Regions from separate parts of the Homo sapiens genome. Here region 2 is linked to region 1. Evidence: promoter capture Hi-C in human tissues and cell types (Jung and others, 2019). All regions are on one chromosome and are shown on one strand. The core of a region is centred on a gene start or on the middle of the fragment in contact, and the rest is flanking DNA. Distances in the headings are between cores, read along the strand shown.

Region 1 (5,821 bases), core at 2,229-4,728:
AGCTGGGTGTGTGCCTGTAATCTGAGGTACTCAGGTGGCTGAGGCAGGAGAATCACTTGAACCCAGGAGGCGGAGGTTGCAGTGAGCCGATATTGTACATTGCACTCCAGCCTGGGCAACACAGTGAGACCCTATCTCAAAAAAAAAGTCACTGGCTTCAGCAGCCTTTAGCCCTTGGTCATAAGTTTTTCTAGAGATCAGAGTGTGGTCTGGAAGAGAACCCAGGCTCTGTAGGGTGATTGGGGCTCTGGGCTTCTTTGTGGATTGCCTCTCCCCACTCCCACATAGCTCCCGGTCCCTGCTGCTGCCCCCGGGCTGTGCCCTGCTTGTTGCCCCTCCTCTGCACGCGCTTGTCTCACCACTGGGGACAATTTGGGTCGCCCATTTGCCTATGAACATCCGTCATCACCCCAGCAGCATGTGTCCAGGGGGCCCACCACAGCTCTTTATACCCAGCATCCCCCCTTGACCTCTGCCACAGTGATGAAAGCCCCCCGACTCTCACATACTTTTTTTTTTTTTTTTTTTTTTTTTTTTGAGACAGACTCTTGCTCTGTCACCCAGGCTGGAGTGCAGTGGCACGATCTCGGCTCACTGTAAGCTCCGCCTCCTGGGTTCAAGTGTTTCTCCTGCCTCCCGAGTAGCTGGGATTACAGGTGCCTGGCACCATGCCCAGCTAATTTTTTTTTTTTTTGTATGTTTAGTAGAGATGGGGTTTTACCATGTTGGCCAGGCTGGTCTTGAACTCTTGCCCTCAAGTGATCCACCTGCCTCGGCTTCCCAAAGTGCTGGGATTACAGACGTGAGCCACCCTGTCTGATCTCCTTCAAATTATTTAAACTTTGATTAAACAACATAGTGAGACCCCAACTCTACAAAAAATTTAAATAAAACCAGCTGGCCTATGCCTGTAATCCCAGCTACTCGGGAGGCTGAGGCGAGAGGATCACTTAAACCCAGGAGGTAGAGGCTGCAGCGAGCCATGATCACACCACTGCACTCCAGCCTGGACAGAGAGAGACCCTGTCCCAAAAAGAGAAGATCTAAGGCCAGGGGCAGTGGCTCACACCTGTAATCCCAGCACTTTGGGAGGCTGAGACAGGTGGATCACCTGAGGTCAGGAGTTCGAGACCAGCCTGACCAACGTGGAGAAACCCTGTCTCTACTAAAAATACAAAATTAGCCAGGTGTGGTGGCACAAGCCTGTAATCCCAGCTACTCAGGAGGCTGAGGCAAGAGAATTGCTTGAACCCAGCAGGCAGAGGTTGCGGTGAGCCAAGGTGGCACCATTGCACTCCAGCCTGCGTGACAAGAGTGGAACACCCTCTCCAAAATAGAAAATCTCTCTTTCTCTCTATATATATCTCTATATAATATATAAATAGATAATATCTATATGTTATATATATATTTTATATACATCCTCATATTTTCTAATAGGTATAAATTGAAGATGTTTAAATGGGGGTCTTTAATTCATTGAGAGAGGGGATGGGATGGGTGAAGGAGGCCAAGCCCTGTTCTGCATCTGTGGAACCCCTTCTCTGCATTTCTCTTGCTGTTTTAATTTTGAGCACTAGCTTACATTGAGGATTAGAATCATGTGATAATTTAGCTCCTGCTATCCTCCCTTCCGGTGGCTCCCACCTTTTTTCCACATCAGATCATCTGTAGTTCCCCTCCGTAAATACCGTGAGGTGGGAGTCTGCATTTCCTACAGGGAAAAAAAAAATCACTTCTACCCGTGGCTGGTACGCTCTCTCCCTCTCCCACACACGCCTTACACCCGGCATTTTCATTCTCTTTGTAGTTTCTACGAGACTTTTCTGTGCCTCCTTTGCCCATGCCAGGCCTCTTGCTAGGAATATCCTTCAGACATCAGATCATTCTGTTTATCTTTCGTGATTCTACTCCCCTGTGATCTCCTAGGAAGCTTCACTTGACAGTACGTTGGATCTGGCTGCTGTCTTCCTCGTGCCCATTCTGTATGTAACTACATGTCTACCACCGCCTATAGTGTAATCTTACGGTACAGCTGTCTTCCTGTGTTCATCTGGCAGCAACACTCCTAACTACCTTCAGAACAGGAACAATTTTGTGTTCAGCCCTCGACCCCAAGCGCCTGGTAGAACACCAGCAGTGTGCGAGGTCCCTGAAAGACACTTGATCATTGAAGGAATGAATGGAGATCCAGTAGTGAGATTTATTTATTTATTTTTGAGATGGAGTCTCACTCTGTTGTACAGCCTGGGGTGCAAGGGCGGGATCTCAGCTCACTGCAAGCTACGCCTCCTGGGTTGAAGCAATTCTCCTGCCTGAGCCTCCCTGGTAGCTGGGATTACAGGCACCCACCAGCACGTCCATCTAATATATTTTTTGTAGAGATGGGGTTTCACCATGTTGGCCACGCTGGTCTCAAACTCCTAACCTCAAGCAATCCACCTGTCTCAGCCCCTCAAAGTGCTGGGATTACAGGCGTGAGCCACTGCACCCGGTTGATATTTTTTCTAACAATTTTTTTTTTCTCTTCCACAAAGTGTAGTACAAAGTTAGGGGTGTGCTCAGCTTTCTATGTAACCTAATATGGGGAAAGCTGACCTCGGAAGGGGGTAAGATCAATCTCCTCTACGCCTTTGCCATGGTACCCAGTGCCAACCACTCCACATTAATCAGCCATGTGCTGTTCCAGGGGTCACTGTCATTCGGGGACGTGGCTGTGGGCTTCACCCGGAAAGAGTGGCAGCAGCTGGACCTGGAGCAGAGGACCCTGTACCAGGATGTGATGCTGGAGAACTACAGCCACCTGCTCTCTGTGGGTGAGGAAGACTTCCCCGTGGTCCTCGGGTTACATGAACTCTTTTTCTTAGTTGTATAAAACTGGGAAACTGCTCACGCACTGAAAGTGCTAAGCTGGGCATGGTGGCTCATGCCTGTGATCCCAGCACTTCAGGAGGCCGAGGTGGGAGGATTGCTTGAGCCACAGGTGCAAGACCCGATCTATACAAACGAAAAATAAAAAATTAGCCAGGCATGGTGGCATGTGCCTGCAGTCCCAGCTACTTGCGAGTCTCAAATGGAAGGATCCCTTGAGGCCCAAGTTCAAGACTTGCCTGGGCAACATGGCAAAACCCCATCTCTACCAAAACATTAAAAAATTAGTTGAGGGTGGTGATGCCTGCCTGTAGTCCCAGCTACTCGGGAGGCTGAGATGGGAGGATCACTTGAGTGCAGGAGGTTGAGGCTGCAGTGAGCTGTGATTGTGCCACTTCACTCCAGCCTGGGCAACAGAGCAAGACCCTGTGTGAAAAATAAAAGTGCTTGGCCTTGGGTTTCAGTGGTCAGAGTCTCGATCCCACTTGGAGTCCTCGTGAAGTTACCTGCCAAGCGAAACAGCTCTCTGTGGCTGAGATGTCCACCTTTTGTTTTGCAGGCTGAACTGTCTGCTTGCTTGGAAGGCCCAGCTGGCTCAGCACAAATCCTTTAACCGTTTCTCCCCAAGAGGGTGTCAAGTCAGCAAACCAGCTGTGATCTCCAGTTTGGAGCAGGGGAAGGAGCCATGGATGGAGGAGGAAGAGATAAGGACGTGGAGCTTCCCAGGTGAGCAGGTGGCCTGCAGGGGGCCGGGGGATGAGGCTCCTGGAAGTCTGCAAAGCAGAACCCATGGATGTTGTCTTGTTTTGTTTTTTGAGATGGAGTCTCGCTCAGTTGCCCAGGCTGGAGTGCAGTGGTGCGATGTCAGCTCATTGCAACCTCCACCTCCCAGGTTCAAGCCATTCTCCTGCCTCAGCCTCCTGAGTAGCAGGGATTACAGGTGCCCGCCACCATGTGTGACTTATTTTGTATTTTTGGTAGAGACTGGGTTTCACCATGTTGGTCAGGCTGGTTTCAAACTCCTGAACTCAGGTGATCCACCTGCCTTGGCCTCCCAAAGTGCTGGGATTACAGGCGTGACCCATGGCGCCTAGCCGGATGTCCTCTTGTTTCAGGCAACTGTTCTTAAAAGCTTGGGATCTTGGCTGGGCATGGTCGCTCACACCTGTAATCCCAGCACTTTGGGAGGCCAAGGTGGGTGGATCATGAGGTCAGGAGATCAAGACCATCTGGCTAACACGGTGAAACCCCGTCTCTACTAAAAATTAGCTGGGTGTGGTGGCACGCACCTGTAGTTGCAGCTACTCAGGAGGCTGAGGCAGGAGAATCGCTTGAACCTGGGAAGCAGAGGTTGCAGTGAGCCGAGATTGTGCCACTGTGCTCCAGCCTGGGTGACAGAGCGAGACTCATCTCAAAAAAAAAAAAAAAAAAAAACCCTGGATCTTTGCAAGCAGCTGTGGACATTTGGCCTTAAACCTTGAGATGCCTTAGTGATCCTGCCACCTGCACACATCACTACACGATTCCTTTCCTGTCTCTGGATTTTAGAGAAAGGCATAGTCTATTTTTTTCTTTTTTTTTTCTTTTTTTTGTTTTTTTTTTTTTTGAGACAGTCTGGCTGTTGCCCAGGCTCGAGTACAGTGGTACGATCTTGGCTCACTGCAACCTCCGCCTCCCAGGTTGAAGTGATTCTCCTGCTTCAGCCTCCTGAGTAGCTGGGATTACAAGCACGTGCCACCACCATGCTCGGCTAAATTTTTTTTTTTTTTTTTTTTTTTTCAGTAGAGATGGGGTTTTGCTATGTTGGCTGGCCAGGCTGGTCTTGAACTTCTGACCTCAGATGACCCTCCCACCTCTGCCTCCCAAGGTGCTGGGATTACAGGCGTGAGCCACCACGCCTGGCCCTCTTTTTTCTTGTTTTGAGAGACTGTCTTGCTTTTTCACCCAGACTGGAGTGCAGTGGAGTGATGGTAGCTCACTGCAGCCTCCAACTCCTGGGCTCAAGTGATCCTCTTACTTCAGCCTCCTTAGTAGCTGCTACTTCAGGCACATGCCATCACACTGAGCCACTGAGCTCATTTTTTTTTTCATTTTTGTAGAGATGGGGTCTCCCTATGTCGTCCAGGATGGTCTCAAACTCCTAGGCTCAAGCGATCCTCCTGCCTTAGCCTCCCAAGTAGCTGGGACTACAGGCATGAGCCATATGCCTGACCATCTATTTTCATTTGTCCTTTGATTCTGCTCTGCTGTCCCCCACTAAGACCTCGATTGCCAAGTCTTCCTGTAGAATCTTCAGTATTTTCCCTGTGGTTATAAAACAGGTTTTCTCCTGTGTTCAGAGATTCATTGATCTGCCCTATGTTAAAATAGCTGTTATTTTGTGCTATTTGTTCTTCTTTTCATCGTTTTCTTTTACTGTGAAATGCCTCAAAAACATATTTTCTACACGTATAATTTAGTCGCCTCTCTCTTCTTCACACCCACAAACTGGTGAAAGCCATTGCTGTCCTTTAGTGTACTTAATGACTTTATTTATTTGTTTTTGAATAAATAATCCAGTGTTGCCCACACTGGAGTGTAGTGGCATGATCTCGGCTCACTGCAACCTCTGCCTCCCGAGTAGCTGGGCCTACAGGTGCGCACCACCATGCCTGGCTAATTTTTGTATTTTTAGTAGAGATACCGTTTCACCATGTTGGCCAGGATGGTCTCGATCTCCTGACCTCGTGATCCGCCCGCCTCAGCCTCCTAAAGTGCTGGGATTACAGGCGTGAGCCACTGCGCCCGGCCAACTTGATGAGGTTAAATCACTGCTGTCTCCCTCCCAGCTCACCTTCGTGTGGCATTGATTGATGCTGATCACCAAGTTTCTGCTGCAGAAAACGAAGGGGCTGGGTTATTTGGAGCTGGCACCATCTTTTCTATTAAATGCTCATTTAGGGGCCAGGCA
Region 2 (5,821 bases), core at 1-2,500, 40 kb after region 1:
TTCAGCTTACAGAGCACCCTGTATGTGTTTGTCTTAGTTCAGGCCACCATCTCCACCTTACCAGGCATCTAGAACCTTCTCCACACTTTGCCAACAGGGTTCGTTTGCAGAATTGAAATCTTAGTTAAGGTTTGTTGAAGTTTGTTGTTGTTTTTTTTTTTTTTTTACAATTGGCTGTTCCCACCCACATTCCCTTGAGACATAAATAGAAAAAAAAAAAAAAAGAGGTTTCATGAGTAAGACAAGACATTTGAGCTGCATCCACTTGATCCTTGAAAAGGAAATCTAAGAGGTTGTAACTATCACTTTTTCTAGCCTATATAAGGTAGGTCAGTAAGGTAGCAAAAACACATCTGTTGTTTTGCTCCTTCAACTCTTTTTCCTGATTCTTCCTGGGGGGAAACCGAAAACGGTGAGTAACTGGTGGACACATCAGACCCCAGACTCTTTTCTTCACTGCATGCATTCATATTAGGCTCAGGTGCTTAGACTCCTGTTTTCCGGTGGCTCTGACACCTGGAAGGATTTTAATCTCTGGGAGATGGGCTTTTCATCCATCTGCTTCCCACCTTTCAGGACAGGTGCATGCCTTCTTCCACAGAATGTCTGCAAGCAGCCCAAACTGTATCCTTTCCCACGTGGAATTTGCAACATTGCATCTCTCGGGCTGCTGTAGGAAAATGCCAGTGCATGTGTAACATGGTTTACGGCTGCCTATGCAAATGACTGATTATGTCAGTATAATTTTTATAAGAAAACAATTGAATCCTTCTTTGGGTCATTTTTTTTTTCCATTTTTGGCATGTATTCAAAAGAAGGCTCTGAGACAAAAAAGGCTGGGGTGTTTTCCGTATCTGGTTTTAATTTGGATATTCTGTCCCGTCACTTAATACAAAACCATGCTTATCACATTTTAAAAATTCTAGACAGGCCTGGCTCGGTGGCTTGCATCTGTCATCCCAGCACTTTGTGAGGCCAAGGCAGGCAGATCACCTGAGGTCAGGAGCTCAAGACCAGCCTGGCCAACATGGCAAAACCCCGTCTCTACTAAAAACACAAAAATTAGCCAGGCATGGTAGTGCGCACCTGTAATCCCAGCTACTGGGAAGGCTTAGGCAGGAGAATCACTTGAGCCCAGGAGGCGGAGGTTGCGGTGAGCCGAGATCACGCTCTTGCACTCCAGCCTGGGTGACAGAGTGAGACTCCGTCTTAATTTAAAAAAAAAAATAATCTAGACACACATACAGTTTCAGTGGGCCTGGGAAGATGTGTTTCCCCTGGATGTGCACATTCCTGTTTGTGGCTTATCGCCTCTCATTTATTCTGTGTGAGTAGGTAGAAAATGAGCATCACGGACGTGCTCAGTGCTGACGACATTGCAGCAGCGCTCCAGGAATGCCGAGGTAGAGGGGACGTGAGGCGGGGGTGGGATTTCCTCACAGCTTTGCACCTCCAGCGAGTCAACACAAAATCAAAATGTAGGCCAGGCGGCCAGACGCAGTGGCTCACACCTGTAATCCCAGCACTTTGGGAGGCCGAGGCGGGTGGATCACGAGGTCAGGAGTTCGAGACCAGCCTGGCCAAGATGGTGAAACCCCATCTCTACTAAAAATACAAAAAAATTAACCGGGCGTGGTGGTGGGTGCCTGTAATCCCAGCTACTCGGGAGGCTGAGGCAGAGAATTGCTTGAACCCGGGAGGCAGAAGTTGCAGTGAGCTGAGATCATGCCACTGCACTCCAGCCTGGGCAACAGAGCAAGACTCTGTCTACAAAAAAAAAAAAAAAAAGTAGACCAGGCATGGTGGCTCACATCTGTAATCCCAACACTTTTTGGAGGCCAAGGTGAGAGGACTGTTTGAGCCCAGGAGTTTGAGACCAGCCTGGGCAACATAGGAAGACTCCATCTCTACAACATAACAATAAAAATAAAAACTAGCGGGGCATGGTGGCATGTGCCTGTGGTCCCAGCTACTCTGGAAACTAAGGTAGGAGGATCACTGAAGCCCAGGAGGTTGAGGCTGTGGTGAGCTATGATCGCTACACTGCACTCCAGCTTGGACGACAGAGTGAGACTCTGGCTCTAAATAAATAAATAAATAAATAAATAAGAGGTTGGCTGGAAAATTCATGGAATCAGAGAAGAAAACTGCTATTTATTAGATAACTAAAATTATAGAGATCTGGGATCTGAGCACACGATTACACATCTGTAAGACAAAAGAAACCTACTAAACATGAAAGCAAGACATCACTGAAAGGCCAGGTGTCGTGCTCACACCTGTAATCCCAACACTTTGGGAGGCCGAGGCCGGTGCATCACTTGAGGTCAGGAGTTCAAGACCAACCTGGCCAGCATGGCAAAACCCTGTCTCTATTAAAAATACAAAAATGAGCTGGGCATGGGGGTGCACACCTGTAATCTCAGCTACTTGGGAGGCTGAAGCAGGAGAATCAGTTGAACCCGGGAGGCAGAGGTTGCAGTGAGCCGAGATCACGCCACTGCACTCCAGCCTGGTGACAGAGTGAGACTCTGTCTCAAAAAAAAAAAAAAAAAAAAAAAAAAAAAAAAAAGCGCCAAAGGCCATTTAGCCTGTTGAAATCCAGTGATTGCATTTCCCCCTACCAATTAGACCAGGGATGCTGGGGGCTCAGCCACACAGCCTGTAAAGTGGGCCAGGGGGAGGGGGAGGCACAGAAGAGATGAGGAGGGAAAAGGAAAATGGACAAAACCAAGTGGAGGAGGGAAGACTGGGGCGGAGGGGACATGGGATGCCATCACAGAGCCATCAAGTCTTGGCTGTCCCAAAATCTTGGACCAGTTGAGCATCCCCGTAGCTCAGGGATATTGTTGAAGTGTTTTTAATTATCTGTGTTTTTAGTACCTTGGCCCCAACATAGAATGTGATCCAACAAGCGTCAGAATAACCAATTCTCTGTTCTTCAGACCCAGACACTTTTGAACCCCAAAAATTCTTCCAGACATCAGGCCTCTCCAAGATGTCAGCCAATCAGGTGAAGGATGTTTTCCGGTTCATAGACAACGACCAGAGCGGGTACCTGGATGAAGAAGAGCTTAAGTAAGCTTTGTCCTGAGTCTGTCTGGTACCCGGCACTGCTGAGTGGGCCTGGGGTGCAGTGGGGGCCAGGTTGCTCAGTATTTCTTCAATGGCCAGCCTTGGTGTTGGTCATTCGGCCAAGCATCATTAAAGCAAAGGACATGAGTCAGTTGACCGCACATCTACCCATGCAAAGCCCTCAATATGGGCAGAGAAGACTGCAGGTGCAAAGATTCTTTTTTTTTTTTTTTTTTTTGAGACAGGGCCTCACTCTGTTGCCCAGGCTGGAGTGCAGTGGGGTGATCTCAGCTCCCTGCAGCCTCCGCCTTCCAAATTCAAGTGATTCTCATGCCTCAGTCTCCCAAGTGGCTGGGATTACAGGTGCCTGCCACCACATCCAGCTCATTTTCATATTTAGAGTAGAGATGGGGCTTCACTATGTTGCCAGGCTGGTCTCAAACTCCTGACTTCAAGTGATCCTCCTGCCTTGGCCTCCCAAAGTGCTGGGATTACAGGTGTGAGTCACTGTGCCCAGCCACAAAGATTCTTTCATGTAAGGGATTTCCTTTGGCAAATGGACTTTAAAAAACTAAAAACTTGGCTAAGCGCAGTGGCTCACGCCTGTAATTCCAGCTACTCAGAAGACTGAAGCACAAGAATTGCTTGAAGTCAGGAGGCAGAGGTTGCAGTGAGCCCAGATCGTGCAGCTGCACTCCAGCCTGGGTGACAGAGAGAGACTCTGTCTCAAATAAATAAATAAATAAAAATTAAAAACACTAAAAACTTAAAAATGGGCCAGGCACTGTGGCTCACACCTACAATCCCAGCCCTTTGGGAGGCTGAGGTGGGTGGATTGCTTGAGTGAGCCCAGGGGTTCCAGACCAGTCTGGGGAACATGACAAAACCTTGTCTCTACAAAAAAAAATACAAATGTTAGTGGGGCATGGTGGGGTGCACCTGTAGTCCCAGCTACTCAGGAGGTTGAGGCAGGAGGATTGATTGAGCCCAGGAAGTCGAGGCTGCAGTGAGCCATGATGGTATCACTGCATTCCAGCCTGGGTGACAGAGCAAGACCCTGTCTCAAAAACAAACAAACAAACAAAACCTTAAAAATGAAGTGCCCACCATTGGTTTCTACAGCTTAAGGAAACCTTTGCTTGCTAAGACCTTGGTTAATTATTGCCGGTGCTGGAAACAGGTGATATGCTTAGAGGAAAAACAAAAGTGTAAACACAGAGATGCATGATCTTTTTGAAAATCCCCATGGATCTTTATTATCCTGTAGGTTTTTCCTCCAGAAGTTTGAGAGTGGTGCCAGAGAACTGACCGAGTCAGAAACCAAGTCCTTGATGGCTGCGGCGGATAATGATGGAGATGGGAAAATTGGAGCAGAGGGTATGTCCACACGTGTACGTAGCATAAAACACTCTAGCTCAGGAAGCATCCGTGAGGGCTTGGGCTGTGAGATCAAACCAATGTGGCTTAAAATCTCCCTTTCTTAAACTTACCGAGCCTCAGTCTTCTCATCTGTAAAATGGGACTAAAGTAAGGATGCAAATGATGTGTGTAAAAACCCTGGCATAATGCTCGGTAGGTACTATAGAAGCTGGTCACACTGGTCATTGTCTATGAGCTGCAAAATATCCTTCACCTGACTAGGGGACTAGCTAGCCACCTGGCCAATTATTTGCACCTGCCAACCATAATGCACCTGCATAAAGCGCGAGGTATTTCTACCAGTGGGGTTTGAACCCCTCAGAATAAGGGAAAGATTTACATCCTCAGACCAGGGTCCATTGGCATGCGTAGGAAGCCCTCTTCGTCTTCAAGGGTTTAGACAAATATATTTTATTGGACATTAGCCCGCCAAGGGGATAATATTAAACAGAGAACAAATAAGCCAACCTCATTTATTGAGTCTTCCATAGGCCGAATCCTAGGTTTGAGCTTTAGAATACACTAGCACAGCTGTAGGACTATTTTCACTTGATTTTGTCATGTTGCTAGCGTGCTTTTTAACTGCTTTGTGCCTGCCAACTCAGCAGAACATATGATGGTCCTTCTGGTGGTGCTAATTTGAAATTTAAAACTGCTACGTTAGATGCTTATTAAAAAAAAAAAAACCTGTTCAAAATTATACCACTATCGCTTACTACATGGGAGTTAATGCAGATAGATAGCTCATAAAAACAGATTAGGTAAGGGGGGATTGCCTTATTTAAACATAACCAGGGGCTGGGCGTGGTGGCTCAGGCCTATAATCCCAGCAATTTTGGAGGCCAAGGTGGGCAGATCCCCTGAAGTCGGGAGTTCAAGACTAGACTGACCAACATGGTGAACCCCATCTCTATTGAAAATATAAAAAATTAGCCGGTCATGGTGGTGGGCACCTGTAATCCCAACTACTCGGGAAGCTGAGGCAGGAGAATCGCTTGAACCTGGGAGGCAGAGGTTGCAGGGAGCCAAGATGGCACCATTGCACTCCAGCCTGGGCAACAAGAGTGAAACTCTATCTCAAAAGAAAAAAAAAAACATAACCATGAAGGATTTCCAAATAAACAAAGCTTACCAATAAATATAAAGCAAGTCCCCAGTTTTTTATATCAATCTGTAACATCCATACCTTGTTATTATTACTATTATCCTTCTTTTAGTAACAGAAACGTTTGGAGTTTGGTTCAATGGAGGAAAGTCAGTTCAAAGTCCCACCCTATCAAATATATCCTAAAAATGCAATACCCAGCTACGGAATAGAGAAAGAAAA

The links. Contacts are between HindIII fragments. The study calls those that stand out against the background at their distance.
Region 2: the fragment with the promoter of OCM here is called in contact with a fragment that was not itself captured in region 1 in 1 of the 25 tissues and cell types used here (mesenchymal stem cells).

Annotation. Positions count from the first base shown.
Region 1 is chr7:5,837,260-5,843,080 of GRCh38, forward strand. It overlaps the pseudogene ZNF815P. Among named protein-coding and RNA genes, the nearest start is that of OCM, 41 kb to the right of the region's middle. The HindIII fragment of the contact is 6,166 bases long and covers 396-5,821 here.
Region 2 is chr7:5,879,548-5,885,368 of GRCh38, forward strand. OCM (oncomodulin) reads left to right here and starts at 1,251. Exons shown (of 4, transcript NM_001097622.2): 1 at 1,251-1,403; 2 at 2,946-3,078; 3 at 4,343-4,452. The coding sequence starts at 1,343. The HindIII fragment of the contact is 18,194 bases long and covers 1-4,352 here.